Regions from separate parts of the Homo sapiens genome. Here regions 2, 3, 4, 5, 6 and 7 are each linked to region 1. Evidence: promoter capture Hi-C in 16 types of primary human blood cells and fetal thymus (Javierre and others, 2016). All regions are on one chromosome and are shown on one strand. Each heading gives the region's core, a stretch centred on a gene start or on the middle of the fragment in contact. The rest is flanking DNA. Distances are from core to core; before and after follow the strand shown. Region 1 holds the start of CXCL3 (C-X-C motif chemokine ligand 3). Region 2 overlaps RASSF6 (Ras association domain family member 6). Region 3 overlaps RASSF6 (Ras association domain family member 6). Region 4 overlaps RASSF6 (Ras association domain family member 6). Region 5 has its middle 18 kb from the start of RASSF6. Region 6 has its middle 44 kb from the start of UMLILO. Region 7 overlaps INKILN (inflammatory MKL1 (MRTFA) interacting lncRNA).

Region 1 (4,019 bases), core at 1,080-3,579:
GAAAAACAGCTAAATGTTATACAAAATTAGAATTATCAAAGTGGTTGGGGGGTAGTATGTACTTTCTAAAAGCATCGGATAGTCCGTTTTGAATAAGAGAAATATAAGGGAAGTGACAGCTAGAAGCAGGCACAGATTTAGATAGAACCTGCAGCCTAACTGTATAACACCTTGGGTGCCTGGGAAGAACTAAAAGTCAAGAAGAATTTTTTGAAAAACCACATAAGCCTTTTTTTTCATAAAACTTTTATTATCATGTCATTTGTACAAATGTAACAGTAATGATAAATTCTCTTTTCCAAGGGAAAGAGAAACGCTGCAGAATGGACATTAAACAAGGCATTATGCCCTACAAGCAAGACATAAAATGTCTAAGGGAAACTTCAGCATAAAAATGTTGAACACATAATGTGAGATAATTTGAATAAATAACAACTGACATTCTTTTTTTAAAAAAAAAGTATAAAAAATAGATGTGTACATACATTCCCTTACCCTAACAGTGATCCACTAATTGCTTGCATTTCAATCCCCCCACCCTCCAGTTCCCCACCCTGTCATTTATCAAGGTGGCTGACACATTATGGTCTCCCACTAAATATTAGTTTAATGACACATTTAAAACCCATCATATTCCAATTAAATAATCAGGACTGAGCTATGTTTGATGAAACACACTCACATCTTTAAATAACAGCATGTAAAATATTAAAATACAAGCTTTCAAAAATAAATACATAAATAAGTAGAACCCTCGTAAGAAATAGTCAAACACATTAAGTCCTTTCCAGCTGTCCCTAGAAAGCTGCTGTTCTCTTTTTCATTTTCAGCTCTGGTAAGGGCAGGGACCACCCTGCAGGAAGTGTCAATGATACGCTGATAAGCTTCTTACTTCTCTCCTGTCAGTTGGTGCTCCCCCTGTGATGAGAAAAGGGTTACTGTTGCAGGTGCTAAGGAAGGCTGCTCTTCTGTCACTCTGAAGTTGCTTGGAGGGATGTCCCCATGCAGACTCTCTCCCAGCCCTCCACTCAGGGAAGGTCTGTCTGTACCCACTGCCTTCTATAGCAGAAAACTTGCACTCCTGAATGCTTTTTTTTTTTTTTTCAAGAAAGAAGTGGCTGTGGACTCAACTAGATTCTTGGTTTGAAAAAGCCAAAACATATTGGTCACTGATTGTCACATTGGGTTAGAAATGTCCATTCATGATCTCCCTTAAGCTGCACACAACCCTATGAAATAACTACCATTATCTACCCTATTTTGCTAAAGCTCAAAGAGATTAAATAACGTTGACAGGGATCCTAGCCTTGAACTCACTGAAGGTGTTACTGCAAAGTTTCTGCTCTTCACCAAGAAGGCTTACAGGCCCAAAGTGCCCAAACCAGACATTGCATTTTTCAGGTCTGAAGCCCATTAGGGACTGAGGTAAACGTCCCAAAACAGGCAGGGGGCATTTTGGCATTGTTAGTCAAATTTACTTAGTATTCTAGAAACCCACATTTACCCTCCCAGGGGTTAGGCCTGGAAATGGAAGACACTGAAATACTGAAATATCCTCTGGCACCAGAGCAGATTAATAACCTTAATGGCAACTTTAATTGTGAAAATAATAATCACAATTTCTAGTCCTTCAGCTAACTCTTGGGGTTCCCTGATTTTATTTTTAGGGGGCAGATGCCAGTATTTCTGACCAACGGCTCCAGTCGCCTGTGTATATGGAAATTACAACTCACTTGTTCAGTATCTTTTCGATGATTTTCTGAACCATGGGGGATGCGGGGTTGAGACAAGCTTTCTTCCCATTCTTGAGTGTGGCTCTGCAGAGAGAAGGGAATTCCGTGAGACAGGAGGTCGGGCTGGGGACAGGGTTGGGGCAGCGGGAGAGTCGGGGACCCCAGCGGTGGCAGCGGAAGCGCGGGGCGGGACTTACATGACTTCGGTTTGGGCGCAGTGGGGTCCGGGGGACCTTACATTCACACTTTGGATGTTCTTGAGGTGAATTCCCTGCAGTGTCTGCAAGCACTGGCAGCGCAGTTCAGTGACCACGGACGCTCCTAGGGAAGAATAGACTCGCTGATTGAGCGGGGCTGTCGGCGCGGGGCGCCCACCCCAGCCGCGTCCGGCCCGGGGACCCCAGGGCGCCGGGACCCACCTGCTGCGCGCCGGCTGGCGGCCACCAGGAGCAGGAGCAGCAGCGCCACCCGCAGGAGCCGGGGATTGCTGGGGGCGGCGGAGAGCGTGGCGTGGGCCATGGGGCTCAGCAGACGCGTCGGGAAGCTGTGCGAGAAGCGGGAGAGCTGGCGGGGAGGTGCCTGCGACCCGGGCTGTGTGGCTCCCCAAGATCGGCGAACCCTTTTTATGCATGGTTGAGACTGGAAAGCCCGGAGCGGCCGGGCCAGGGAAATTCCCGGAGCTCCAGATCGATCCGGAGTCCCGAAGGAAGGCGACGGCCCCGCCCCCGGGGTGGAGTCGGATACGGGTAGGGGGAGCCCACTGGTGACGCCTACGCCTCGCCCTCCAGAGTAACCCCCGTGCACTCTGGGACTTTGGGATATTCATTTTCTGCCCCAAATTCCTGGAGAGGCAGTGAGTCCACCTCGCTGAAGATACAGCCTGTGAGGGGGGACCTTAGGTCCCCGATGACCCCCCGCGTACGGGGTAGGGTTGGAGGAAAGAGCTGGGGGGACCCGTGAGAACCAGGACAGGAAAGGCACGACTTCTTTAGAGGAAGAGAGCTTTGTCTCCTTAGTTATCAGATTTGCTGGGGACCCGGAGACAGGCGAGTTTTCCCTCAGCTATCCTCTCTCTATATAGTCTATCCTCTATGTTAACCTCCCGGTCTCTGCCTCTCTCATTTTCGGTTTAGCGTTATTTCATGTACATCTAACATCATGCTCTCTGTGAAAGTACAGCCATCGTCTCGGATTCCAGAGAAGAATGTTCTACTTGTTCCTTGTTTTGCATATTCTCTAATCACACTTAGAATACCTTGTTTACGTTTTCCATTTGGTGGCAACAGATTATCAGTGTCAAAATTTGAATTCAGTGTTAGTGTCCGTGGAAGCCAGGGCTGTATAACATGACCTCTTCTTTTGTATCCTGCATAACGTCCTTCCTCCCTCTGAAATGTTGGAACTTCCTAAATCCCCTGGAGACCTTCTCCCAGTGGGAGGGATTCAGATTTGATCTAGAAATATGACACTGGCTGTCACTCTGAAGCTGTGGAGGGGCTGGGTCCAGCAGGATCATGGGCTCAATGTTTCTGGTTCTGTCTTTGCGAATGACACTAGAGAGTAGGTACCTGGTGTGCAAACACCATTCCCACTGAAGGAGCAAACAGCTGCCTGCTGATGACATTTAAACACCAGATCACACATAAAATCACATTTCATTTACTATAGAATTTTCTGGTATTCAGCACTGGGGGATCTTTCTCTGGAAACATTAACAGGGCACTTTTTTTTCTCGTCTGGATTTTCAGTCTTTTAACCTGACACCTTTGTCCCTTTTTCTAGTTTTAGATAATGTATTTTGATTTGTCATTAGGTTTTAGAGGGTTTAAGTGTGATTCTACAAGTTGGTCTCAGACCTCTTTGAGACGTGGAGTAGGATGGAGGAGAGGAGAAAGGAATGGCATCTGCCTGAAGCACAGGGCTCTACACAACCCAGCTCAAGGGATAAGAGTCCTTGCCCCTAACCAAACACAGAGCGTGCAACTGTGCTGCCTGTATTTAGTTGCAGAGTATCACTTGCAAGTTGTTAAGCCTCTCTGTGCCTAGCCCAAGGTGGTTATGAGAAATGAGTTAACATTTGTAAGAGACAACATGGATTAAGTGCCTTATTAATGGTTGTTAAATAAATAAAATGGACTATTTCCATTTTTAAAAGGCTATTTCTTTCCCGACATTGCCTGAACAAAAACTCAGCCTGCTATGAATTCTGTAAAGGAAAAAAGAAGAATCTAATGGAAAGTTTTACTCCCCAGTGTTTTTCACATTTAAAATTTTCTGTATCCCTTA
Region 2 (4,019 bases), core at 651-3,150, 470 kb before region 1:
TCCATCCCTCTCCTCCTCCCTCCCCTTTCCACAGGCAAAGGAATATCTCCCTGTGGCCACCACCACCACAGGCCTACAGGGACTAATGCCAGGCTACCACTGATGTTCATTTAAGGCCCAAGTCCTCTTCTGTCAGCTTGTGGTAATGCTGCCAGGCCAATGACTCACAATTCAGGGCAGTGGGCTCCCATCTGGCCCAGGACCAGTCCAGAAATGCTGTCCAAGTGTCGAGGCCTAAAACTGGGGACCCCACGAGCCTGCTTGATACTCTGCTCCACTGTGGCCAAGCTAGTACAAAACAGAGTCCCCTTTACTTTTCCCTCTGCTTTTCTCATGTAGAAGGAGTCTCTCACCATAGCCACCGTAGCTGGAAACGTGCTCAGTCTCGCCTGAAGCCAGCACATTTCAGAGTCTCAACCAAACCTACAGCATACTACTTGAGTATCATTGCTGGTTATAAAGGGCCCAGGGACCCTTTAGTCAGCAGATGATGAATCCTGCCATGACTGTGTCCTTCCCTTCTAGGCAGTGGGTTCACTTCTGGCCCAGGGAGTGTCTAGAAATGTTGTCAGGGTTTAGGGCCTGGAATGGGGGTCTCATGACTCTGCCTGGTGCTCCATCCTATTGTCGGTGAGCTAGTAACCAAGATGCAAGTCAAAATTCTTTTGATTCTTCCTTCTTCCCTCCTCAAGCACAAGGAAGGAGTCACTTTAGTTGTTGTAAGCTGTGCAGCCTATGGTTGGGAGAAGAGTGTGCAAGCACTCCCTTAGCCACCCTGGCTGGTGTCTCACAAGGTTTTGTGCTGCTTAAATCCACTGCCTCTGACCCCAGCACAGCACTAGGGCTTGCCTAGAAGTTGCAATCCTTGTGGTCTAGACTGCATTTCATGTTTTTTTTAGCATCCCAGAGAACTTCAGCCCATGGTTCTGAGGCTTGCTGCAACTCAGATTCCAATGACTGAGACAGGCAATTTCCCTGTGGCTAGGGCTTGTCTAAATGCTCCCGCCATGGGTAGAAATGGGATGAATTCAGTATGGTTCTGCTTTCTACTGTGACAAGGTAGCACTAAGTTAAATGTAAAATCTCATAATCCTTGTGCTCTCCTTCTCCCAAGTGCACAGATTCTCCACACCATACAGCTGCTGGGGGATGGAGGATGGGTGGTTTCTGCAAGACTGTCTTTCCTACCCTCTTAATGCCTCTTTCAGTGATATGAAATTAAAACCAGGTATTTTGATTGCTCATCTGATTTTTGGTTCTTATGAAGGTTTTTTCTTTTTTTCTTTTTCTTTGTGTGTGTGTGTGTGTGTGTGTAAATCATTGTTAAATTTGGTGTTCCTGTTTGGTGGAGAAGAATGATGATTGGTGGAGGCTTCTATTTGGCCAATTTGTTCTGCCCTTCCCAGCTAAGTCTTAGACATTTTTCTATTTTGTGATCATATGTATTTAGGTTTTTACTTTTTTTTGTCTTTTTTTTTTCCTCACAAATGTAATTATTTGTTTGTTTGCTTTTCCTAAGGGTCCAAATGGATCAAAAAGTACTAGTGTCTATGGGGAGCTTAAATGATCCCAGAAAATGTCAATGTAGGATCTTTGATGAGATCTACACTTATTCTTATAAATCATCAAACATATCTAATATTCAAAATAAGAATCAACAAAATAAATTTTCAGGTGCTCACAAAGTTGCTCAAGAACACTGGCCAGTCTACACTGAAATTGTCCTTTCTTACCCAGCAGAGAAATCTAATTATTGTAACCCTCAGAAAACCCACCGTAATTACCCCTCTCTCTCAACAACAAGCTTTCTTCTTCTCAAGAGCAGAAACAGAAACATGAAATCAAACAGCTTTCAAAGGGCTCAGGTAGATGTGATGGGCTCTCACACCAAGCTGGGAATTGTCTGCCAAGTTTCCACAGTGAACAAAACCCTAAAAGCAACTTGGAGTTTTTGTCTATGCCAATACTGAAAATGTTTATTGCCAAACTGAATGAAATAAGCTTCATAATAAAGTTACCTTCCTAATCATAAGCTTCATAATAAAGTTACCTTCCTAAAGGTTTCACCTTTAATCTTTACCCTAAATATGTGATGCTGTATTGGCACCAATACAATATAATGCACTTAAATTAATTTGAGCTTGAAGTGATTATTTGTGATAGTACTTTTTTTCTTTGGAAATCTTTCTGCAAAAGACATAAAGAACTGATGGGTATCATTTGGACTTGTTTTTATTTTTCCAGATATTTTTGTATAAAAGATAAAGTAAAACTAAGTGCTTAAATAAATGAATTATTTTGATTAGAGAACTATAAAAAAATTAATTATCATTCTAATACCCTTTCCTTGAGTTTAATTATTTTTCCTCACTTCAGTGACTTCAACACATTCATATGCATTAGTGAATTAGATCCAATAAACATTTGCTGAGTACCTAATGCATTCAATACACTGTGCTAGATACTACAAGGAATAATACAAATATGAATATGATTTCACCAGATCACTAATGCATTTATACAAGATATAAGCACATAAAGAATTATAATAAAAGGCAAATTTCAAAATTCTGGTGTCACAAGAGCAGAGCTAACTGAAACTGTGGTACACAGGAGCTTGAGATCACACATTGTTACAGAGACCAGGAAAGGTAATGGAAGAAGGGACCCTAACCAGGGACTAGAAAATGGGAATGTTTCAACAGAAAGAGATGTGCTAAAGTGTGCAGTGTTTCAGGGAAGGCTGAGTGATTTAGTTTGGCTGGTTTTAAGACAAAAATGACATAGCTGTGGGCAGTAAGTCTTAGTAGAAGATAAGGCTACGATGGTGGTTGGGGAATATACTGAAGTTTAATTATAACATAGCTAATATTTATCACATTCTTATGTGCAAAGTGCCAGGCTTTACATGTGCTATTCTTGTAACTCCCCCAACTGTCCAATGAAGTAGGTACTATTATTCCACTTAAAAATGAGGACACATTTTAGAATGGCAGATTCGGGAAGCATAGTTCGGGGGAAGCCACAGATTATGGTGGTTAACTGTATGGCTTCTGGAGCCATAAGTTTAAATCCTACCTATTTCTTCTACTAAAAACCTTGGCAAATCTCCTAACTGCTCCATGGCTTACTTTCTTTATCTGTAGCATGAGGTTGAAAGAATAATTTCCTTATGGAATTGTAATGAATATTAAACGTAGTGCCCAGCAAATAAGTTGTTATTAGTTTGAACAATATGAAATCATTGCCTTTGTAGGTCAAATATTGGCAATTTCAAATGGCTCAATCTAATAGGTATTAGATGTTATTAATTTAGAAGACAAATGAATGTCATTGAAAGGTTTTGCCCTCTGTAACTACATCCTATTTCTTGTTCTTTCCCATATATATGCCTCCACCTAATAGTTATACCTGCTGTCTTTATCACTTCATCAATTGCATTGCAAGGGGCTTCTTTCCCCTTCAGTTTCAAAAACCAATCTAAATAGCCCTAAACCAAATTAAACAGTAATGACACCTAACTGAATATTTCATAGTAGAGCCAAGAGATAATAAAATATACCACTATATCAGGGAAAAACATATATATATATATAATGTTTAATATTTTTTCAGCTATGGGACCAGACTTGTAATAAGTAATACATACATATGGGGAATTTTATAAAAATATTTCAGATAATTCCTTCACTCATTCATTTATTCTTTCATTCACTTATTTATTCAATCAATTTTTATTGAGCACATCCTACGCACAAGACACAATATTAGGTACAGAAAAGCTATAAAGATAAATGTGACACATTCTTTACCATTAATAATAATATATATTATCTAAAATTTAATTTGAGCTAATATATAACTGACAATGAAATATTTGGACCACCTAAAACAAGGATAAATTATTCTGTGACAAGTTTATATTCTTGCATTATGCAAAAATGATTCGAAAATAAACTATTTTTTTCCCAGAAATTGTATGAGCTATACATTGCTATGTAACAAATTGCCCCAAATTT
Region 3 (4,019 bases), core at 967-3,466, 450 kb before region 1:
TCCTGATGGGCCAGGAACCATTAGGGACCCAAGGTGTTCCTGGATCTCTCTAGGCAAATGGTTGCTATTATCTAAGAATCTCTTCAGTAATGTCTGTTTTTCTTATGACTAAAATATATTCACTTATAGGGAATTTATGGCATTGACTCTGCCCGAATTTCATTGGTGGCAACAAAAAATATTTATTAATACTAATGGTAGTGAATATGAAGAAAGTCATCCCTTATCCTCTTTACTTTTGAATTCTTTTGAAGCGTGTTTTATGGCTACTATATCATTTGAGTCTCACAATAGCCTTATGATGTAGAGAAGGTAATCCTAATATATTTGTTAATTTTCCAGCAAGCTGTACTATTCAGAATACAGCCAATCAAAACAAATGTCATAAAGCCCAACTACAGGTAATAACTTTAACTCAAAGGAAAACTACCAGGTCCTGACTCAGAATCTAATTAGTCTTATGGCAGATAAAATTACCCATTTCCCCAAATCTATAGCAGCTTAATAATCAGAAAGTGGCAGACATAATTATCGTAGAAGGGGGGTTAGGAATGGAAAAGTCAATACCAATGAAAAACAGAAACTAAAAATGCAAAGTAACCTGATGCTATGTCATAGGGCTAAAGATAAGAATCCCCAGGATGCCAGTCAAATTCTCGGTGACCCTCGCAGACGTGACAGCTTAGTTTTGTCACACAAATATAGGAGGCCAAAAGTCATCCAATATATTCTGTGTTTGGCCCCTTATTTTTTTCTACCATCTACAGCAGAAAACACCAGTTTTCAGCTCTGGATTGTGTAATTTGAAGCATCACCCCATACAACTGTGCACATGACTAAGCTTCAGGGCAGTTATCCAGAGTTTTCAAGAGAAAACTGGTTGGAACTTTATGTAATATCAAATAGTTTAACTTGCCCAAACATGGGACTTCTGTTGCTCTGACTAAAGTTCAGGATGTATATCATTTGCAAATTTAAATGATGGGGAGGTTTTCTAAGGAGTTTAAAAATAAAAAGGAGGTAGAAATTTGATAGACAAATAGAATATGGTCACTTCCCTACCCATACTGTAAGTAAAAAAACACCACTGACGTTATTCAAATGTACACCTGTCCAGTTTGTGCTCTTTATGTTATTCTGTCATGACTTGTCCAAAATATGCAAAAGCTGAGTTTTGAAAGATATTAAAAACAGATGTGAAAAATAGCATAAGCAAACACAACCTTAACAAGGCTGTTCTTCTCTTTTGTTATGAAAGATTTCCAAAACACTTGTGCCAGATATGAGAGATCAAAGTACTGCCCATAGAATTGTTTCCATAAAGAATAACAAGTGGTCAGAGCTCAAAAAAACTGATTTTTTAAAAGCTTCTTCACTCCAATTAAGCTGATACTTCCTCTGTGTGACTCATTTCAAACATAATTAAACTAATGTGACAAGACCAATGATTCCGTCAAAGAGAGAACTGAAAGACACAAGATTATAGCCCTTCCTGCAGCTGAAGTTCTATTGTCATTTACCCCACGTTTACCCACTGCAGATATAAAATCTGTCATCCTGCAAGAGCAGAGGTGTAAGTTTTGCCTAGAGGTGCCCACTATGGGAAAAAGAAAATAGTTTAAAAGTAAGAAAACAGTAAATTTCTTTTCACAATTAAAGGCTGAGAATTAAAATAGATGTTATCTTAAATGAGACAACCAGAGGGAGGGTGTCTAGAACTGGATTGAAACAACAAAAGTGATACCTTAGGTGGCTATGCACCCCATTAGCGAACCAGAAACCAGGGAAAAGCCACTTCAAATTGTGCTGTGCCTTCCTGCCTGAGTGTTCAGCTGGCTCCCAGGAAGTACTCTTGGCTAATTAATGACAACCAAATCTAATCTTGCTCTTGTTTGCGTGTGGTTCTGTGTGTATGTAAAAGGAATGGGATCTTTTTCTGCCAAATGTTCTACAGTTAATCTTGTTACTGGAAAAGGACAAGCCAGTCAAGGTTTCTAGGTAATTTTTCTCCACTTTAAACAAAAAGAGCCAATTCCTGTTTGCTTCACAGCAATGTACTAATAAACAATGCAAAATGTAAATGGATCCTATAGCAGGTGTATCATGAGGATATTATTTTAGAACCTGTGGCAGTATATGGAGAGGCATATTACCTTGTCCACCTGGGCTCTTGAAACTCATCCAAAAATTCAGAATTGCTAGGAACAAGTGTTTTAAATTTGAGAAGTTAAAAAATATCATGGTTAATAATAATATATTGCATACTTCAAAAGAGTTAAATAAGAGAATTTTTTATATTCTCTATTCTCACCACAAAAAATGATAAATATTTGAGATGATTGATATGTTAATTAGCCTGTTTGGTTCATTCTGCAATGTACATATGCATAAAAACATGTATCCCACAAATTTATAGAATTATTATTTGTCAATTAAAAATAAAATAAAACTTAAAACATATCTTGGTAAAGCCATACAAAATAATGATGGTTTAAGGTGATACTAAAATTACCTTACTTCATTTCTGTGGCATTTTCCTTTAATGTTTGATATTTATTACATTTTCATGAATTAAAAAATTAAAATGCATCAAATAGATGTGACTGCTCAGAGAATTTTGCAATGAGGTCTTAGGTAATATGAAGTATGGTAGTTAATTTTATAAATCCGTATCTTGTACAGTTTTCGGAAAGCAGAGCCCAAGAGTAATTTTTCCTTTTAAATGATGCTCCTTGTCATTTAGAATCATAAGCCCCATCAGTCATCAGGTACCTGAAGTGAGAAATGTGGGGCTCTCTCAGGCTGCTGGAGGCTGCTGCCTCCCTTCCGTTCTTCCTTAGGCCCTGAGCCCTAAGCTCCTTGGCAATCCTTAGCTTGGATGGGAGACGAGATAGATAGAGGGACTAAGTAGTGACAACAAAGCAGAGGTAATTTAACCACAGGCTTCTGGGGATTTTGCTCTATACTATGGTTTGAATCTCCTCTTTGTGCCAGGCACACAGTTGGGCACTGGGATGAATAAAGCAAATAAAACAAAGATGAATAAAGCACATTCCCTACCACCGAGAAGCTTGCACTATAGACAAGGAGATAAGTATACAAAAATACAATTGACTGCATGTGTGTCAAGTGATATAGAAAAGTTTTCAGTGAGCCTCGTATAGACTGAGGGGTCAGAAATGGCTTTCTGGAGAACATGTTACCTCACCTGCGTCTTAAAGGACTGGTGGAAGAGACTCAGGCAAATGGATGTGGAGAAGCAGGGAGACTTCTAGGCAGAGTCAGGAAAATTAGAAATTGCATGAAATGTGTAGGGAATTACAAAACATTCAGCATGGCAGTAGCATAATTTTTGAGAAATATTGGCAAGGTGAAAATCATAGTCGGGCTTAAATATTTTTTCCAAAGGAAAAGCAGACTTCTGTCAAGGTGATAATTAATTTTCCCTAGTTGTGGCCAAATATTACATTGGGCAAATTGTCCTGGCAGCTCTTTCTCCATTGCCTCCTCTGATAGAATGCCAGCTCATCTAACAATGGATGCGAGGATGAATGGTGGGAAAAGAAGGCTTGGTATCTCAATGTATATACACAGTGGGTTGAGCTGGAGAGGTAAGGACTAAAAAGGAAGAAGGGATGGAAAAAAAGGATGAAAGGAACTTTTATACAGGTATGTTTCTTGCTGAGAATATTTATTAATTTTTCTGAAACTTGTAAAGGGGTAAGGAAAAAATCAGCCCAACCTGGATATCCAAGGGACACTTGCATAAGCCCACACAAGGGACTGTTTTGTGCATTTATTTAACTTCAAGTGCATTTCAGGGTGCTCTGTTGAACAGGATTGGGACAATCAGATGGAACATCATTAAGTTTCCTTGGTAGAAAGCACAATGAGCCCTTTGTTCCAAGGAAAGAAGACATTTAGATTTTATCCTCTTATTTTGGAGACCAGGCCAGGGTAAATCAAATTCTGACTTTACATTTTGCCTTTTCCAATGAAGGAATGCAGTCTCCAGGAGA
Region 4 (4,019 bases), core at 717-3,216, 430 kb before region 1:
ACTCCAGGCAATAAAACAGCAACTGGAAGCTTAGTCATTTCAGTACAAAGCTAACCTGTGCCAATACCCTTTGAACAGGGAAGTTTCTAAACTCAGAGAATTCTCATCCAGTAGTGGGATATAAACGTTATGTTTCCTACTATGCTATTATTAATATCAGGACCTCTTATTTTACTGATCATATGCAATCCTCATGAAATTTGCTGAAACCAAAATTTTGATTATGAAGATTCTGCTTAACTATTAATTTCCATTCTTTTCATGTAGTTCTGTGCAGGAAAATAAAAATACCTCAATAAATTGCTAATTTTTGTCTTGTTTACCACAACAATGCCTAGTAAAGAGAGGGAGCTAAAAAACTACTTGCCAAGTGAATAAATGAGTAGGGGTGTTTGCCAGATTTGTGGTATGCTGGATATCATAGTTGGTCAGTGGCATTGTTATAATTTCTGGTGACAGCCTGGCAGAGATTTCCCCTAGCTCCAGGAATTTTGTTTATGTTAGGAGGTCAGAAGTTCTCAGAACTTTAATCCTTTCCTATGGTGAGAATTTGTTCTCAGTACTTCAGTATGCATCAGAATCACATGATTAGTTCTGGGGTGAAGCCAAGGGTCTATACTGTGAACAGGCATCTGAGTCAGAAGCAGGTGGTCCATGGACCTCATTTTTAAGAAATGCTTCTTATTCAATCTCAAATGTAATGTGTCCAGAACTGAATTCCGGATCCTCAACTGCAAACCTGCTCCTCCTGTAGCTCCTGCTTCTCCTCATGATTTCAGAAAATGTTAACTCCATTTTTCTAGATCAAAATTTTTAGAATTATCCTTGGTTATTCTCTTTCTCTCACACCCATGTCTAACCCTTCTGGAAATCCTATTGTGTTGGTCTTCAAACTATATCCAGAATCTGACCATTGTTTTCTACCTCTACTGCTGCCACCTTGGTTCAAGCAACCTTCATCTCCACCCTGGACTGTCAGCTCCTTGGTAACTTCTCTGTTTCCACTCTTGTCCCCTCTCTACTCTGTTCTTAACACAGCAGCTAGACTGATATTGCCACTCATGTGCTCAATATCCTTCCACAGCTTCTCATCTTATTTAGTGGGAAAGATCAAGCCTCATAATGGCCTATCAAACCCTACATGTTCTGAGCCCATTTGGCTTCTTCTCCTGCTGTCTTTCTACTTCCATTTCCCCACACTGTTCTCCCTGACCCTTACAAATATGCATCTGCCTTAGGGCTGTGGAGTTGCCATTCCCCTTGCCTGGAATACCTGCGAAAGCTGCATGGCTTGCTTTCTCCCTTTCTGCAGGCTTTTCCTCCAGTGCTTCCCGCTCACTGAGGAAGGAACTAGGTTATATGCAATCAGAACCCTTTCCGCTCTCTATCTCTAGCACTCTTTACTCCATTTCCTCAGCATTTATCTTATGTATTGACTGCATCCCGACTTTATGATGTAACTCCATGAGAGTAAGGGTTTTGTTTGGTTCATTACTGAATGCTCAGGGTCCAAAAATACACCTGCTCACAGTGAGTAATCAGTAAGTGTTTGAGGAATAAGTCAGTGGATCCTTTATCCTTTGCATCAGGTCTTTTTCCCACTGCTTATAGTTCATCCTTATCTTTCAGCTGTGGCTTTATTTCCATATTTGATCATATTTGTTTCCTTCACTTTCCTACTGCCCAACCCTGCATCATTCACTTCTCCTTCTCTCTGTCATTTATTTGGCTTTTTTCCTTTTTCCACCCCCCATAAGATTTGGGTCATGTTTCAGTACCACTTATTTTTTCATGATTTCATCTCCTCTCAGCCCCCAGCCTCTGCTGTAGCTTGGCCAGTTTCAGTTTTCATCTCTACTCTTATAGCTTTTAAGCCCTTACTCTATTGTTCCCAAAGCAATATGAGATACTGTTTGCTGCGTACAAGAAAAGCTGTGGATGTTGGCCATATATTGCATAATCTAATGTCAAGAGGGAACCAGTAAAAATAAAGTGTCATGAGGAGCAAGGGATGGAGAGGTTAGGACAGGACATAATGTTTTTGGCCCTGGGGTTAATTCTTTAGAACTATCATTTATGAGAAGCCTTAGATCTTTCACCTAATGCTGCTCTTCAATATTATCCCAACTATTAAAACAGAAATGTTGCTTTTAATAAAGTAAAACCACTGTTAAACAAAATATTAGTGATTGTTCCATGAGAGTAAATTTGAGAGTCTTTAGGAACATACTTTTCCAACTTCTTATCTAGTATCTCTACTGATGATTCATATTATTGATCTTGTTGACCATACATCATGCTTAGAAAACTTTGACGGTATATTCCACAAATGACTGGTGAGTAGGACAATGTATAATATAAGGTGTGTGGTTACCTGGTTATGAATGTCTTCTCATTAATGAAGATCCAAGAGGGGTACTGGTGAGCCATCATAGTCATCTTTTCCTCCTTTTTGAGATGGTCTGAGGATATCCTAAACATGAGAATAATATTAATGATTTGTTCCTATAATGCATTAAAAAATTAGTTTCTGATTTAAGTTGAGTGTTTTGTTGTGTCTCTAGAGTATAAGAAGGTTTTAGAAAGTTTTTAAGTAGTATGTCATGTGTGAGCAAAAATACAGAAAAATGTATTATGTAAATGAAAAACTACAGAAACAGTAACTCCAGACACGGATGGATTGAACAATTTGGTAAGTCTGTTTTAGATATATTTCTAGCAAAATAAATATGACTCTATTGATTTATATAATTCTGTATAAGGGAGCATATTCCTTCTATTGCAATAACTCACCCAAACTGGCTGAACCTTGCCCCAATCAGCAGAAGACAACTGCAATTCTAGGCAGCTAAAATCAAGCTCTGACTTGAAGAGTTGATTAGGTATGATGTAATATTTTTCAAGTCTCCTTCAAGCTCTGGAAACTGTGGTCAGATGTGAATAATCTCCTCCTTTATATGTTCATATAAATGGCATTAGGGTGTGACCAGAGATGTAAAGTATAATATTTTCTGTTCATTCCATTTTGCAAAAATTGAATATTCAGTTATCATGGCTCCAAGTCTATAAGATTTTAGGGGATAGAGCCAGAATAAAAAAGATGGATGAGAGAGTTCAGTTTTCTTTTTTTTTTTTTTTTAAAAAAAAAAACGTTGTGTATAAGGGGGTGGATTTCCTCCTTTTCCTTTCAAATCTGGTTATTTGGGTTGGGTAAGATGAATAAAAATTAGGAAATTATATGTCCTAACTCTTCAGAGTACCAGGAAAAAAAGAAAACAGGAAAGCTATTCTTCTATTCTCATAAAATCTCTGATGCATATTTTTCTTTATAGCATGTTGTTAAACTCACTAGGTACTTTGTTACAGTTTTCAGGGTGAATGCTTGGCTGGAGTCTCATTTTAGGCTTTTATCATTCCGATCATCCCATCACCTATTTGGTCACAAACCATCTTGGTATCTTTCTTAATAAATACAGCCCAAGTCCCTTAACCTGACTCTCAAGTTTTCTTCAATTCCACTCAAACCTACCTTTCCAGGCTCCAAATTGAAACATTTCTTCAACACCAGGCCTTGTAATCTAATGAAATTTCATGTCATTGAGTCTTTTCTCACCCATTTCCCCTGGCAGCAGAGGGCCCTCCTCACTGCAGGTCCAGATATCTGGTCCCTTTTAGTCCCCAGTGGGAAATCTTAAAGTCTCCCCATGTCCTTTGAATCCACACTGTTGTCATCATTCTGCTTTCTACCTTGTATTGTCATTATTGATTTATACCTTACTTTCTTTTCTATTGCTATCTTCTTGCTCAAAGAATTGTGCTTCTCTAGTTGGAAATGGCATCCTCTGATAGCACATCATTGGCAGGTCTCATGCAGGACACCTGGAGGACTCATACCAGAGACACAGAAGCTTAGTCACCAGGCAAAGTAATTCTATACGTCAGAAGCCACATGGGCATTTTATGCTGCCTTGGGCACACAGACACAACATGCTCCATGAGCCCAGTGAATCCCAGTTACT
Region 5 (4,019 bases), core at 665-3,164, 400 kb before region 1:
ATAACAGCCATATTTGACAAGCCCACAGCCAACATTATACTGAATGGGAAAAAAGTTGAAAGCATTTTCCCATAGAACAGGAATAAGACAAAGATGTCCACTTTCTCTATTTCTATTTAGAATAGTACTAGAAGTCCTAGCCAGAAGAGTTAGGCAAGAGAAAGAAAGAAAGAAAGAAAGAAAGAAAGAAAGAAAGAAAGAAAGAAAGAAAGAAAGAAAGAAAGAAAGAAAGAGAGAGAGAGAGAGAGAGAGAGAGAGAGAGAAAGAAAGAAAGAAAGAAAGAAAGAGGGAAAGAAAGAAAGAAAGAAAGAAAGAAAGAAAGAAAGAAAGAAAGGAAGGAAGGAAGAAAGAAAAGAAAGAAAAGGGAAGGAAGGGAACAGAAGGGAAGGGAAGGGAAGGAAAGGAAAGGAAAGGAAAGGAAAGGAAAGGAAAGGAAAGGAAAGGAAAGGAAAGGAAGGGAAGGGAAAGGAAAGGAAAGAAAGAGAGGAAGGAAGGAAGGAATTCAAATTGGAAAAGAGGAAGTCAAACTATGACTGTTCATTGATGATATAATCATAGACCCCCAGAAAACCCTAAAGATTCTTCCAAACGACCCCTAGATTTGATGAATAAATTCAGTAAAGTCTTAGGTTACAAAATCAATGTACAAAAATTAGTAGCATTGCTATATACCAACAATGACCAAGCTGATAATAAAATCAAGAACTCAATTCATTTTACAATAGCCGCCAAAAAATAATTCTTGGAATATACTTAACCAAGGAGGTGAAAGATCTTTAAAAGGGGAACCACAAAACATTGCAGAAAGAAATCACAAATGACACAAATAAATGAAAAAACATCCCACGTTGTGGATTGGAGGAGTCAATATCATAAAAATGGCCATACTGCCCAAAGCAATCTACAGATGCAATGGAATTCCTATCAAGATACCGACACATTTTTTTTTTTACAGAGGTGGAAAAAACAATCCTAAAATTTATATGGAACCAAGAAAGAGCCTGAATAGCCAGAGCACTCCTAAGCAAAATGAAATAATCTGGAGGCATCATATTACCTGCCTTCAATTTATACTACAAGGCTATAATTACCAATACAGCATGGTATTGGTATAAATGTGGACACACAGACTAATGGAACAGAACAGAAAACCCAGAAATAAAGTCAAATACTTCTAAGCAACTGATCTTCAACAAAGCATACAAAAACATAATTCTGGAAAGGACACCTTATTTAATAAATGGTGCAGGGAAAACTGGATAACCACATGTAGAAGAATGATCTGGGCCCTTATATCTCACTTTATACAAAAATCAACTTAAATCTAAGACCTGAAACCATAAGAATTCTAGAAGATAACCAAGGAAAATCTCTCCTGGACATTGGCCTAGAAAAATAAGTTATGACTAAGACCCCAAAAGCAAATGCAACAAAAACAAAAATAAATAAATGGGACCTAATTAGGCTAAAAAAACTTCCATTAGGCAAAAGAAATATTCATCAGAATAAACAGACAACCCACAGAATAGGAGAAAATATTTGCAAACTACCATTGAACAAATGACTAATATCCAGAATGTACAAGGAACTCAAACAAATCAGCAAGAAAAAATTCAATTAAAAAAGGGACAAATGACATGAATAGATATTTCATGAAAGAAGATATACAAAAGGCCAACAAACATATGAAAAAAATGCTCAACATCACTAATCATCAGAGATATGTAAATTAAAACCACAGTGAGATATTATCTTACTTCTACAAGAATGGCCATTATTAAACAGTCAAAAAACAATAGATATTGGTATCGATATCGATTTGGTGAAAAGGGGACACTTACACACTGCTATTGGGAATGTAAATTAGAATAACCTCTATAGAAATCACTATAGAGGTTTCTTAAAGAACTAAAAGTATATATACCATTTGATTCAGCAAATGGTAGATATACCAGATACTGCTAGTATTTACCCAAAGGAAAAGAAGTCATTACATCAAAAAGACATTTTCTTGTGTATGTTTCTTGCAGCACAATTCACAATTGCAAAGACATGGAACCAACCTAAGTGCTCGTTGCCCAATGAGTGGATAAATAAAATGGTATATACACACCATGCAATACTAGTCAGCCATAAAAAAGAATAAAAAAATATATTTTGCAGTAGCTTGGAGGAGCTAGAGGCCATTATTCTAAGTGAACTAAATCAGGAATGGAAAACCAAATACCATATATTCTCACTTATAAGTGAGAGCTAAGCTACGGGTACACGAAGGCATGCAGAGTGGTATAATGGGCTTTGGAGATTTAGAAGGAGGGGATGAGATGGGGGCTGAGGATAAAATACTACATATTGGGTAAACTGAATACTACTTGGGTTACAGGTGCACTAAAATCTTATACTTCACCACTGTACGATTCATCCATGTAATCAAAAACCACTTGTACCCCCAAAGCTATTGAAATTCAAAAATAGTTTTAAAAATGTTATAAACCATTGATTGTAGTTTTTAGATGGATTCACAACTGCTTTCTGTCCCATCCTTAATAACTCTAGTTACAAGTGGGTCATAGGTGCTTGCATAGTTTCAGAAAATAGGAGACAGTTGAGTTTATGTTGATTACAGCCACAACAAACAGCTCCTGGAGCATATCCTGTTTGCAATAAGGGATCCTTCCTGGGCTAAATTCTTGTGATGTCAAGCAGATCATGGTATACTGACAGAAGTAAGGTAAGCACTTGAGTGATGTAATTATATACCTTATGGGCAGTGTCTGCATGTATATTATGAAAACACACAGTGAAATAAATACTACTCTATCTGAGCCACTCTTATTTAGGCTATGTAGTTTTCCCCTCTAATTTTCACAGTTTACCTTTGCTTTTGGCATCTAATGTTCTGTGCTTTTTCTGCTTTTATTTCATGTTGGTCCAACAATCCCAGGAATCTTGAGTAGTTCCCAAATTTTGGGGGCACTATGACCTATTTCTTCTGTTTAAATAAACTTTATGGAGGCTTAATTTAGATTGTGTGAATAAAATTTACTATACCACACTTTCTCAACTGAATTTTGCTACTTTTGTAGAAAATAATCTGTTCATTTGTATGTAGATCTTTTCCAGAAAATTATCCTGTTTCATGGATACATTTGCCTAACATTATCTCAATACCACATAACATTGATTACGCTTCCTTTATAATATACCTTGCAGTCAGGTTGTATTAATTATCTAATATTATTATTATTTTGCAAAGTTGTTTTGCTCTTCTAGGTTCTTTGAATTTCCATATAAATTTTAGGATTAGCTTGCCATTTTTTACTTAAAAATTTAGCTGATATATGTGTCATATATGAACATATATATAATTTTTAATTTTTTGTGAGTACATAGTAGGGTGTGTATATTTTGGGGTTACATGAGATATTTTGATACAGGCATGCAATACACAGTAATCACATCGGGCAAATGGGGTATCCATTCCCTCAAGCATTTATCCTCTATGTTAAAAAAATACAATTATACTCTCTTAGTTATTTTAAAATAACTTTTGACTATAGTCACCCTGTTGTGCTAGCAAACATCGGGTCTTATTCATTCCCTCTGACTTATTTTGTACCCACTAACCATCACTCTGTTCCCACCAACCCCACTGACTACCCTTCCTATTCTCTGATATCCCTTCTTCTACTCCATCTCCATGAGTTCAATTGTTTTAATTTTTAGTTTTCACAAATAAGTGAGAACACGTGAAGTTTGACTTTCCCTGTCTGACTTATTTTAAATAACATAATGACCTCCAGTTCCATCCATATTATTGCAATGACAGGATGACAGGATCTCATTCTTTTTTATGGCTGAATAGTATTCCATTGTGTATATGTACCACATTTCCCTTATCCATGCATCTGTTGATGGACACTTAGGTTGCATTCAAATCTTGGCTATTGTGGATAGTGCTGCAATAAACATGGGCATGCAGATAACACTAACACTGATTTTCTTCCTTTTGGTTATAT
Region 6 (4,019 bases), core at 865-3,364, 370 kb before region 1:
AGATCCTGCATTCCCAACATTAGGCAATGCTGATGCTGCCAGTTCCTGGACAGCAGCCTTGAGTGGGGCTCTGTTTGGGGTTCTCACTCATCCTATTATGCTTATTTCTTCCTTTCTGTGCCTCCTCTGCACCCTCCAACTCCTCTCCCACACAACCATCCAGTTTTGGGGAAAAGCCTTTCATAAGAGATACTTCTCTTCCCAGGAATTACTTTTTCTGCTGAGACAGGCCCCAGTAATTTTTATTCATGAGAGTAGAATGTTATTCCTTTCCCCTGGAGTGTTTCAAATTGCTCTACTTTTCTTAAAGTGATTTTGATTTATGAGAAATGTATGCTTCTGTTTTCAGTACAAAATGATCATAATTTCATCAGAAAAAGGGAGTTGTTAAAGTATTTGACATAACTCTAACACCTCCAGAAGTTTATTTGACTGCTCTGGAAAGTTTTTAAAGACAATCATTTTGCACAACCAAAAATCAAGAAGGATACTGGTAGTGTTTGTTTAGATTCAAAACGATCAAGAATTGTTGATCCTTCTGATATTTGGATTTGAATCCCTAAAGCAGCTTTAAACCAAACTGTCTGTTTGGATCATTTGGCTAAACTTCACTGGTCAGAATATTACTTGCTGCTCTACATCTGACCTTGACTTAGGGCATAGGAAGCAGAAACTCCGGGACAAATCTGGGACTTGCCCAGTGTATGTTATAGAAATATTCACTTTAGTGGTCTGCAGAGACACCCTTCAAAGAACATAGCCAGGATATTAAATATCCATTTCTTACTTTCTTAGTTTTTTAATTCATTAGAGCTGGAACAGAAGACCAAGAGAATTGTAGGGACCAGCCCCACAGGGTCGGTGGGTTTTTCTCCCCATGTGTGGAGATGAGAGATTGTAGAAATAAAGACACAAGACAAAGAGATAAAAGAAAAGGCAGCTGGGCCCAGGGCACCACTACCACCAAGACATGGAGACCGGTAGTGGCCCCAAATGCCAGGCTGTGCTGATATTTATTGGATACAAGACATAGGGGTAGGGTAAGGAGTGTGAGCCATCTCCAATGATAGGTAAGGTCACGTGGGTCACGTGTCCACTGGACAGGGGGCCCTTCCCTGTTTGGCAGCTGAGGCGGAGAGAGGAGACAGCTTACACCATTATTTCTGCATATCAGAGACTTTTAGTACTTTAACCAATTTTGCTACTGCTATCTAAAAGGCAGAGCCAGGTGCACAGGATGGAACATGACAGCAGACTAGGAGCATGACCACTGAAGCACAGCATCACAGGGAGACAGGCCTCCGGATAACTGTGGGTGGGCCTGACTGATGTCAGGCCCTCCTCAAGAGGTGGAGAAGTAGAGTCTTCTCTAAACTCCCCCAGGGAAAGGGAGACTCCCTTTCCTGGTCTGCTAAGTAGCGGGTGTTTTTCCTTGGCACTGACGCTACCACTAGACCATGGTCCACTTGGCAACAGGCGTCTTCCCAGATGCTGGCGTTACCGCTAGACCAAGGAGCCCTCTAGTGGCCCTGTCTGGACTTGACAGAGGGCTCACACTCTTGTCTTCTGGTCACTTCTCACCATGTCTCCTCAGCTCCTATCTCTGTATGGCCTGGCTTTTCCTAGGTTATGATTGTAGAGCGAGGATTATTATAATATTGGAATAAAGCGTAATTGCTACAAACTAATGATTAATGATATTCATGTATAATCATGTCTATGATCTAGATCTAGTATAACTCTTGTTGTTTTATATATTTTATTATATTGGAACAGCTCGTGCCCTCGGTCTCTTGCCTTGGCACCTGATTGGCTTGCCACCCACATCTGCCCCCTTTTTATTAACTAGGATCGCCATCACCATCATTGCTTGTCGTTGACTTTGGACTTGTTTCCGGACTCCTTGGAGGCATCTGCAGACTAAAAGAGACAACATAAGCATACCAGTATTAATAATGCCAGTGACAACAATGATTCTCCAAGGGGTTTGATCCATTTAAAGGGATTAAGATCAGATAATTCTTTAGTTATTCCTTCAAAAATGTCTGAGCCAGGAACAGTGGATAAATGAGCCTGTGAAGCCTCAAAAATTTGTTCTTTAAGTTTTGAAATATCCAAGGTTAAGTTATCATCCCAGGCTTTTAAATGTCTTGAGAACTTTTCCCAGCTATGCTGATCTTTATTATAAGCATAAGGCATTATGCAGTAATCAGAAGTATTCCAATCACACTGTAATTGCATACGGTGTTCCAAATTCATAACTCTATTTCCCAATCATATCACACGTTGGCAGAGATCATTAATTTGATTAGCTAATTTTTGATCAATTTGAGCCTTAGAATTCCAAAGTCTGGAGGAGTTTTTTTGCCATGCTTCAACACATTGAGTGGTTTGAACGGAATTGTGAATCATAACTCCAGCAGTTGCCACTGTTGCAGTAACCGCAATTAGACCTGCAATGACTGCAATAAGAGTAAAAATAAATCTCTTTGTTCTTTTGAGGATACCTTTAAGAACTTCATTGACTATGTATATAGAGGGGGAAGACTCCCACGGATGATGTAAAGAAACTGGTATCCATACCCCCTCCCTAGCACTTACCAAGAGAATACTTGTTGTGGGATTAAAAGTAGCATCAATGCACGTGAACAGCTTACAATTATCACATTCTATAGTTTGTGTACTGGGAATGATAATTATATTTCTAACTAACAGCAGGTGAGTGGTTTTGACACAACTCCTGATGGGTATTACCTGTTTAGATATCAAGGTGATGTTGAATGTGGGTGTTTTGGTATTAGTGTGAAGGAGTTGATAAGTAGTGTTCCATATCCTTATTCCTGTTATAGCTGCAGCTAATTTCCATAATTCAGGATGTTCTGGGGTAACAATGGGATGAATCATTTTTGGTCTAGGAGGAACAATGCCTGCGTCCATCCATTTAAATGGGTAAGGAGACACCTATTGTCTCAACCTGTATGACTGCCATCCATCCTTTATATAATCTAACAAATAATTATACTCCGAGCATGAGGTATTTTTGCTGGAGCAATCCTGCGAATAATGCTCTTTTGGAGCCCAATCAATAACAGTTCCCATGGCTAGACTTTGCAGCACAATGGCCTTGGGAGCATTACAATCATTCCATAAAATTGAATTCAGTAGAAAAGTTCCCTTTGTAGGTTTCTTTGGGCAGTCTGGCAGTCCTTTTGTTTTATTGCTGTTAGTAGTGACAGGAGCCCTCAATTCCTCAAGAGGCTTAAGTTTAACAGTGAGAAGTTGAAAAGAATTGCTACTGAACACATTATGTACTTGATAAGAATCATTTGTTAAGGATGGTACGGTCCACATCCAATTCTGGTAAGAATAAGCTAAACAGCCAGGTGATACACAGTGGTGGGTATTTATAGCCAAATGACAGATTAAAGTGCATACCTTCTTCTTCCGGTTGAGCTGGAAACCTATCATCATTAGGGACCGGCATGAATGCACTATTATTAGTGTAAACTTCTACTGAGGAGTCCATCCAGGAGACAGACCAAATTAAAGGGGGAAAAGGAACATATGCCCAGTGGGTATAATTTTGAGTTGCCCCAACTGGTGGTATACTTACTGCTGCACTGACTACCATAAAGACAGCCAGAATTATATTACTGGTCGTTTTTGGGATTCCTTTTTCTTTTAATAAATTTTCTGTGTGATGGGATAAGACCTTTATTTGACCCCATGTTGGTGGAGTTGAACGAGTGGTGTTGTAGGTCACACAGCGAGATTTTGTCTCAATGTCGAGGTCATGAAGTTTATGTGTCAGGAGGCGAAATTTCCTCCTCGGTTTTTGAGGGGTCTTTGCCTTTTGTTTCTGGGAACGTTTCATCTTTGGAGTTATGGTGCAATTTCAGTTGTCGGTGGGGGAGACCCACATGGGCTGTAGTCCTTTTCCTGGGGAAACACAAGCAAAACCCCTACCCCATGTTACGACTGTGCCTAATTCCTATTTGTTAGTTGCATCCTTCCACCAT
Region 7 (4,019 bases), core at 1,031-3,530, 340 kb before region 1:
GGGATCCAAAGCTGAATGGTCCATGATCCCTGCACCGAAGAAACTCATTGTCAGTAATGGCAAATAAAAATAATTTGAGCTATATTATAGAGCTAAGTGGTAATAGTTAACACTTCAATTTCAATTTTTACAGAAAATTGTGAAGCATGTCTATAATATATTGTTTAAATAAAGTAGTCCAAGATCATACAACTATAGGATGTTACTCAAGGCTTGAACTGGCACGGTTTATGAGACAGCACTTGAAGTTCTGAAGAATGACAGAGGAAGAAGAACCTGAAGCCAATGACAGCTTCCGAGGGGAAATCATGTTTCAGCTTAGTCTTGAAGAATGCACAGTAAACTCTGCATCCCTGGTGGACAAGACAGTTGAGGACATTTCATGTGGAAGAAAAGGAAGGAAAGAGATTGTGAAAAAAAGAGATCATTACAGCAACTCTTGATATTTAATATGTCAAGTCCTCTTTCTTTGTTCTTAGTTCCATTGGGTAATTTTCTATATATATGTTGATATCAATTTGTTTTAATCAGATAATTGACCGAGGAAACATATATATATATATATATATTTTTTTTTTTTCGAGACAGAGTCTTACTCTGTCACCCAGGCTGGAGTGCAGTGGCGCGATCTCAGCTCACTGCAAGCTCCGCCTCCCGGGTTCACGCCATTCTCCTGCCTCAGCCTCCCGAGTAGCTGGAACTACGGGGGCCACCACAACGTCTGGCTAATTTTTTTGTATTTTTAGTAGAGACGGGGTTTCACCATGTTAGCTAGGATGGTCTCCATCTCCTGACCTCGTGATCCACCCGCCTTGGCCTCCCAAAGTAATGGGATTACAGGTGTGAGCCACCACGCCCGGCTGGAAACATAACTTTTAATAACCTCAGAAATAGACTACTGTATGAACACTTGATATGAAAGAGGTAGCATCATATAACGTGGAAAAAGGTGCTGGGACAATTGAGTACCTGTATGGGAAAAAATCAAACTGGACCCTGTATTGTATGCCGTGGTGCCCTTCCCAGTTCTCCCCTTCAGAGTGATGACACTAATTGTTCCAGCTGCAATATTGCTGGTTGACAGGTCGCAGCTGAATCACTCCTCAGGAATTGCCCTTGGCCTAAAGGAGCTGCCTTGCTGAAGGCTGTGGTCCCTCCCTGAAGGCAGCTCACATCGAGACTAGCTGATGTGGGGATACAAATTCTATCAATTTGAGACAAGCTGAAAGCTATTATGGGACCTGCCAAGGCCTCCACTGCATATGCTTCACCATTCGTTTCTCCTCTGCCCAAATCTGCCTTCCTCACCTTTTTTCAGGTACAGTTCCCATGCTCATGGTCCAATAAACCACATGTTTACAAATCACCATCTCAGAGATCTTCCCAGGGAGGTCTACCTAAGACCCCTAACTTACACCATACCCCACAATCAGCTCCAGGTAAATTAAAACTAAAGTACAGAAAGATGGAAATAATTTGCACAAGGTTATACATCTGAACGAGAAAAGAGCTGAGATTTAAACCTGAGAAGTCTGGCTCTAGAGTCTCTGCTCTTAATCCCTAATGGCAAATAAAATAAACCACTTATGGCTGCATGGAATGTCATGGATGAATTACACAAACACATTGTGGAGCAAATGAAGCAAGGCACAAAAAAATACAAAAAGTATGATTTCACTTACGTGAAGCACAAAAGCAGGCAACATAAGTTGGATTGTTTAGAAATGCATACACAGATAGTAAAGATATAAAGAAAGGCAAAGGAATGACTATGGAAAAAATCAGGAGGTGATTACTCAAAGGGAACAGGAAGAGGTGAAATAGGGGAGAGGGTTCTGAGAATGTTGGTAATGTGTTATTTCTTCATCTGAATGGTGGTTACACATATGAACATTTACCATTTATTTGTGTTTAACATTTATAATAATGGTTTTAAACTATAGGTATGTGTTCTTTTCTTTCTTTCTTTTTCTTTTTTTTTTTTTTTGAGATGGAGTCTTGCTCTTGTTGCCCAGGCTAGAGTGTAATGGAGAGGTCTCTGCTTACTGCAACCTCCACCTCCCGAGTTCAAGCGATTCTCCTGCCTCAGCCTCCCAAGTAGCTGGGATTTACAGGCATGTGCCACCATGTCCGGTTAATTTTTGTATTGTTAATAGAGATGGGGTTTCACCATGTTGGCCAGGCTGGTCTTGAACTCCTGACCTCAGATGATCCACCTGCCTCGGCCTCCCAAAGTGCTGGGATTACAGGTGTGAGCCATTGCACCCAGCCAGATATGTGTTCTTTTCACTTTTTTTTGTGAATGTGACATATCTTACAATTAAAAAATTGGAATAGAGAAATCCATGGTGAGAGGTGAGATGACTGCAGTAGAGAACCCTGTGAAAGATATGCTAAGGGTCAGGGTCACAGGGCTCTGTGTATAAGTGTTAGAGAGGGTTTTACTTCTTTTCTCTTCAGCCTTCACCATAAAATTTTGCAGAAGCCTTCACAAGTTGTCTGGTTATGAGCAAGCAACTCTGAAGTCCTGGTGATCCAGAGAGGTGTTGCTTCTGATCTCTTTTCACTATGGAGCCACAGAGAGCTGAACTTCCCATCTCCCAGGGGAGCTTTGAGGCCCATGTTTTAATTTGCCTGCCTAGCTTTCTCTCCTGCATGGCGTTAGGCATCTCGGAGGCAACATTCTAAAACAAAACTCATCAGTAGCAGGATGAGCCTTGAAAATTCTTTCTTTTTCTTCCTGAGATTGAGTTCATATAGCATGAAATCATAAGGAAAACAAACATCCTTGTAACATAATCACACATGAGATGGCCACAAGATCTGAGTAGTATGAAAGGTCTGATTACCTTGCAGGTACTACTTCCCTCCAGGACAGCTCCCTCTCATCCTTTGCTCCTATGTCATTTGGCAGGCAAAGAGTTGGGGATAAAGGGCTAATACTGAGGTTAAAAGGAGGGAACCACTGGAAGTCCTGAGCAAAGGGGGTTTGGGGTAGAAGAAAAGAGTAGGATGAGGGGTATGAGGGTCCTTAACCAACTTTAGGGAGTTGACCAACTGAGTGAACTGAAAGTCAACAACTGTGATATTGCAACAGTATGAGAAATGTGTGCCCAAGGCAGTGACTAGGGTTCAGACACCACCCTGGACTCCCAAGTCATTCCTACCTTATATTTTTGTAATTCTTTCCAGATATTTGTCAAACTAAGATTTAGGCCATGTAGGACAAGGATTGATCTGTTCCCTGTCATCCTCAATGGGAACACAGTTCTGGAGGCTCCACATACATTCAGTTTACCGACTCTACAAGCACATGTTAAGCATCAAGTATCTGAATAGGGCTCTGAAAGCCACAGATAGCACAATTCTTTCTATCAAGGAGCTCACAGTGTGGCTGAGGAGGCAACAGGCTATCTGACAAGGAGAGTGCCAAGCCCTTCTCAGGATGTGGGATAGGTCTCAGGGATAGCCCCTGTCTTAAAGAGTATACCTATGAGTTAAAATACATAATCATGAAAGAGAAAACTGAGATGAAGGAGTGTTAGACTTGAAGTAAGAGTTTTGGAAAAAAATTCTAGGAGAAATAGTTGAAGAGCTGAGTTTTGAAAACGAGTAGTTATTATTGTTACATTGAATTTAATTATCTTTCTGAAAAAAAGTTTTCTTTAAATTTATATTTTTTTCTTCTCACAGCTTTTATAGTGTCGTGCTTTGAATCCAGTAAGTGCATAAGGAATTGGGGAAGGACGTTTGGGGAAGGGGCTGGAGTAGTTTTAAAGGTTAAGACTTCCAGAAGGGACATGTAAGCATACATATATAAGCATTTATTTCTTTCAAATATGACTTCTTGGGCAATTAATGGAATAACACTTTAATTAAAGTCCTTTTATGATAACATAGAGCAGTGGAGCATGGCTAGGAAAAATGAAGAATCATACTCTTTCCTATCTTGATTCTTCAATGGATTCTTGAAAAAGTGTAAGAAGAGGTAAACTCATTATTTGATAGTTTAGAAACCT

Evidence for each region. The method cuts DNA at HindIII sites, captures the fragments that hold promoters and counts their contacts. A CHiCAGO score of 5 or more calls a contact.
Region 2: a fragment that was not itself captured here is called in contact with the fragment with the promoter of CXCL3 in region 1 in 1 of 17 cell types (fetal thymus); the score reaches 8.9 in fetal thymus.
Region 3: a contact is called between a fragment that was not itself captured here and the fragment with the promoter of CXCL3 in region 1, in 1 of 17 cell types (fetal thymus). The highest score is 6.9, in fetal thymus.
Region 4: a contact is called between a fragment that was not itself captured here and the fragment with the promoter of CXCL3 in region 1, in 1 of 17 cell types (fetal thymus). The highest score is 5.8, in fetal thymus.
Region 5: a fragment that was not itself captured here is called in contact with the fragment with the promoter of CXCL3 in region 1 in 1 of 17 cell types (neutrophils); the score reaches 12.7 in neutrophils.
Region 6: a fragment that was not itself captured here is called in contact with the fragment with the promoter of CXCL3 in region 1 in 6 of 17 cell types (M0 macrophages, megakaryocytes, M2 macrophages and 3 more); the score reaches 12.6 in M0 macrophages.
Region 7: a contact is called between a fragment that was not itself captured here and the fragment with the promoter of CXCL3 in region 1, in 3 of 17 cell types (M0 macrophages, monocytes and M1 macrophages). The highest score is 5.6, in M0 macrophages.

Annotation. Positions count from the first base shown.
Region 1 is chr4:74,036,360-74,040,378 of GRCh38, forward strand. CXCL3 (C-X-C motif chemokine ligand 3) reads right to left here and starts at 2,330. Exons shown (of 4, transcript NM_002090.3): 1 at 2,153-2,330; 2 at 1,931-2,054; 3 at 1,734-1,817; 4 at 230-918. The coding sequence starts at 2,252. The coding sequence ends at 903. It overlaps LOC105377275 (a long non-coding RNA gene), which reads left to right and starts at 2,586. Exons shown (of 2, transcript XR_938875.3): 1 at 2,586-4,019. The HindIII fragment of the contact is 4,426 bases long and covers 1,790-4,019 here.
Region 2 is chr4:73,567,966-73,571,984 of GRCh38, forward strand. It overlaps RASSF6 (Ras association domain family member 6), which reads right to left. Exons shown (of 11, transcript NM_177532.5): 11 at 3,585-4,019. Among named protein-coding and RNA genes, the nearest start is that of RASSF6, 50 kb to the right of the region's middle. The HindIII fragment of the contact is 197 bases long and covers 1,803-1,999 here.
Region 3 is chr4:73,588,842-73,592,860 of GRCh38, forward strand. All of the region lies in intron 4 of RASSF6 (Ras association domain family member 6), which reads right to left. Among named protein-coding and RNA genes, the nearest start is that of RASSF6, 30 kb to the right of the region's middle. The HindIII fragment of the contact is 1,703 bases long and covers 1,366-3,068 here.
Region 4 is chr4:73,609,357-73,613,375 of GRCh38, forward strand. It overlaps RASSF6 (Ras association domain family member 6), which reads right to left. Exons shown (of 11, transcript NM_177532.5): 2 at 2,375-2,473. The coding sequence starts at 2,439. Among named protein-coding and RNA genes, the nearest start is that of RASSF6, 9.1 kb to the right of the region's middle. The HindIII fragment of the contact is 3,879 bases long and covers 28-3,906 here.
Region 5 is chr4:73,636,372-73,640,390 of GRCh38, forward strand. No RefSeq gene overlaps it. Among named protein-coding and RNA genes, the nearest start is that of RASSF6, 18 kb to the left of the region's middle. The HindIII fragment of the contact is 4,804 bases long and covers 1-4,019 here.
Region 6 is chr4:73,664,620-73,668,638 of GRCh38, forward strand. No RefSeq gene overlaps it. Among named protein-coding and RNA genes, the nearest start is that of UMLILO, 44 kb to the right of the region's middle. The HindIII fragment of the contact is 4,697 bases long and covers 1-4,019 here.
Region 7 is chr4:73,700,203-73,704,221 of GRCh38, forward strand. INKILN (inflammatory MKL1 (MRTFA) interacting lncRNA) reads right to left here. Exons shown (of 3, transcript NR_185098.1): 3 at 153-353. Among named protein-coding and RNA genes, the nearest start is that of UMLILO, 8.1 kb to the right of the region's middle. The HindIII fragment of the contact is 8,798 bases long and covers 1-4,019 here.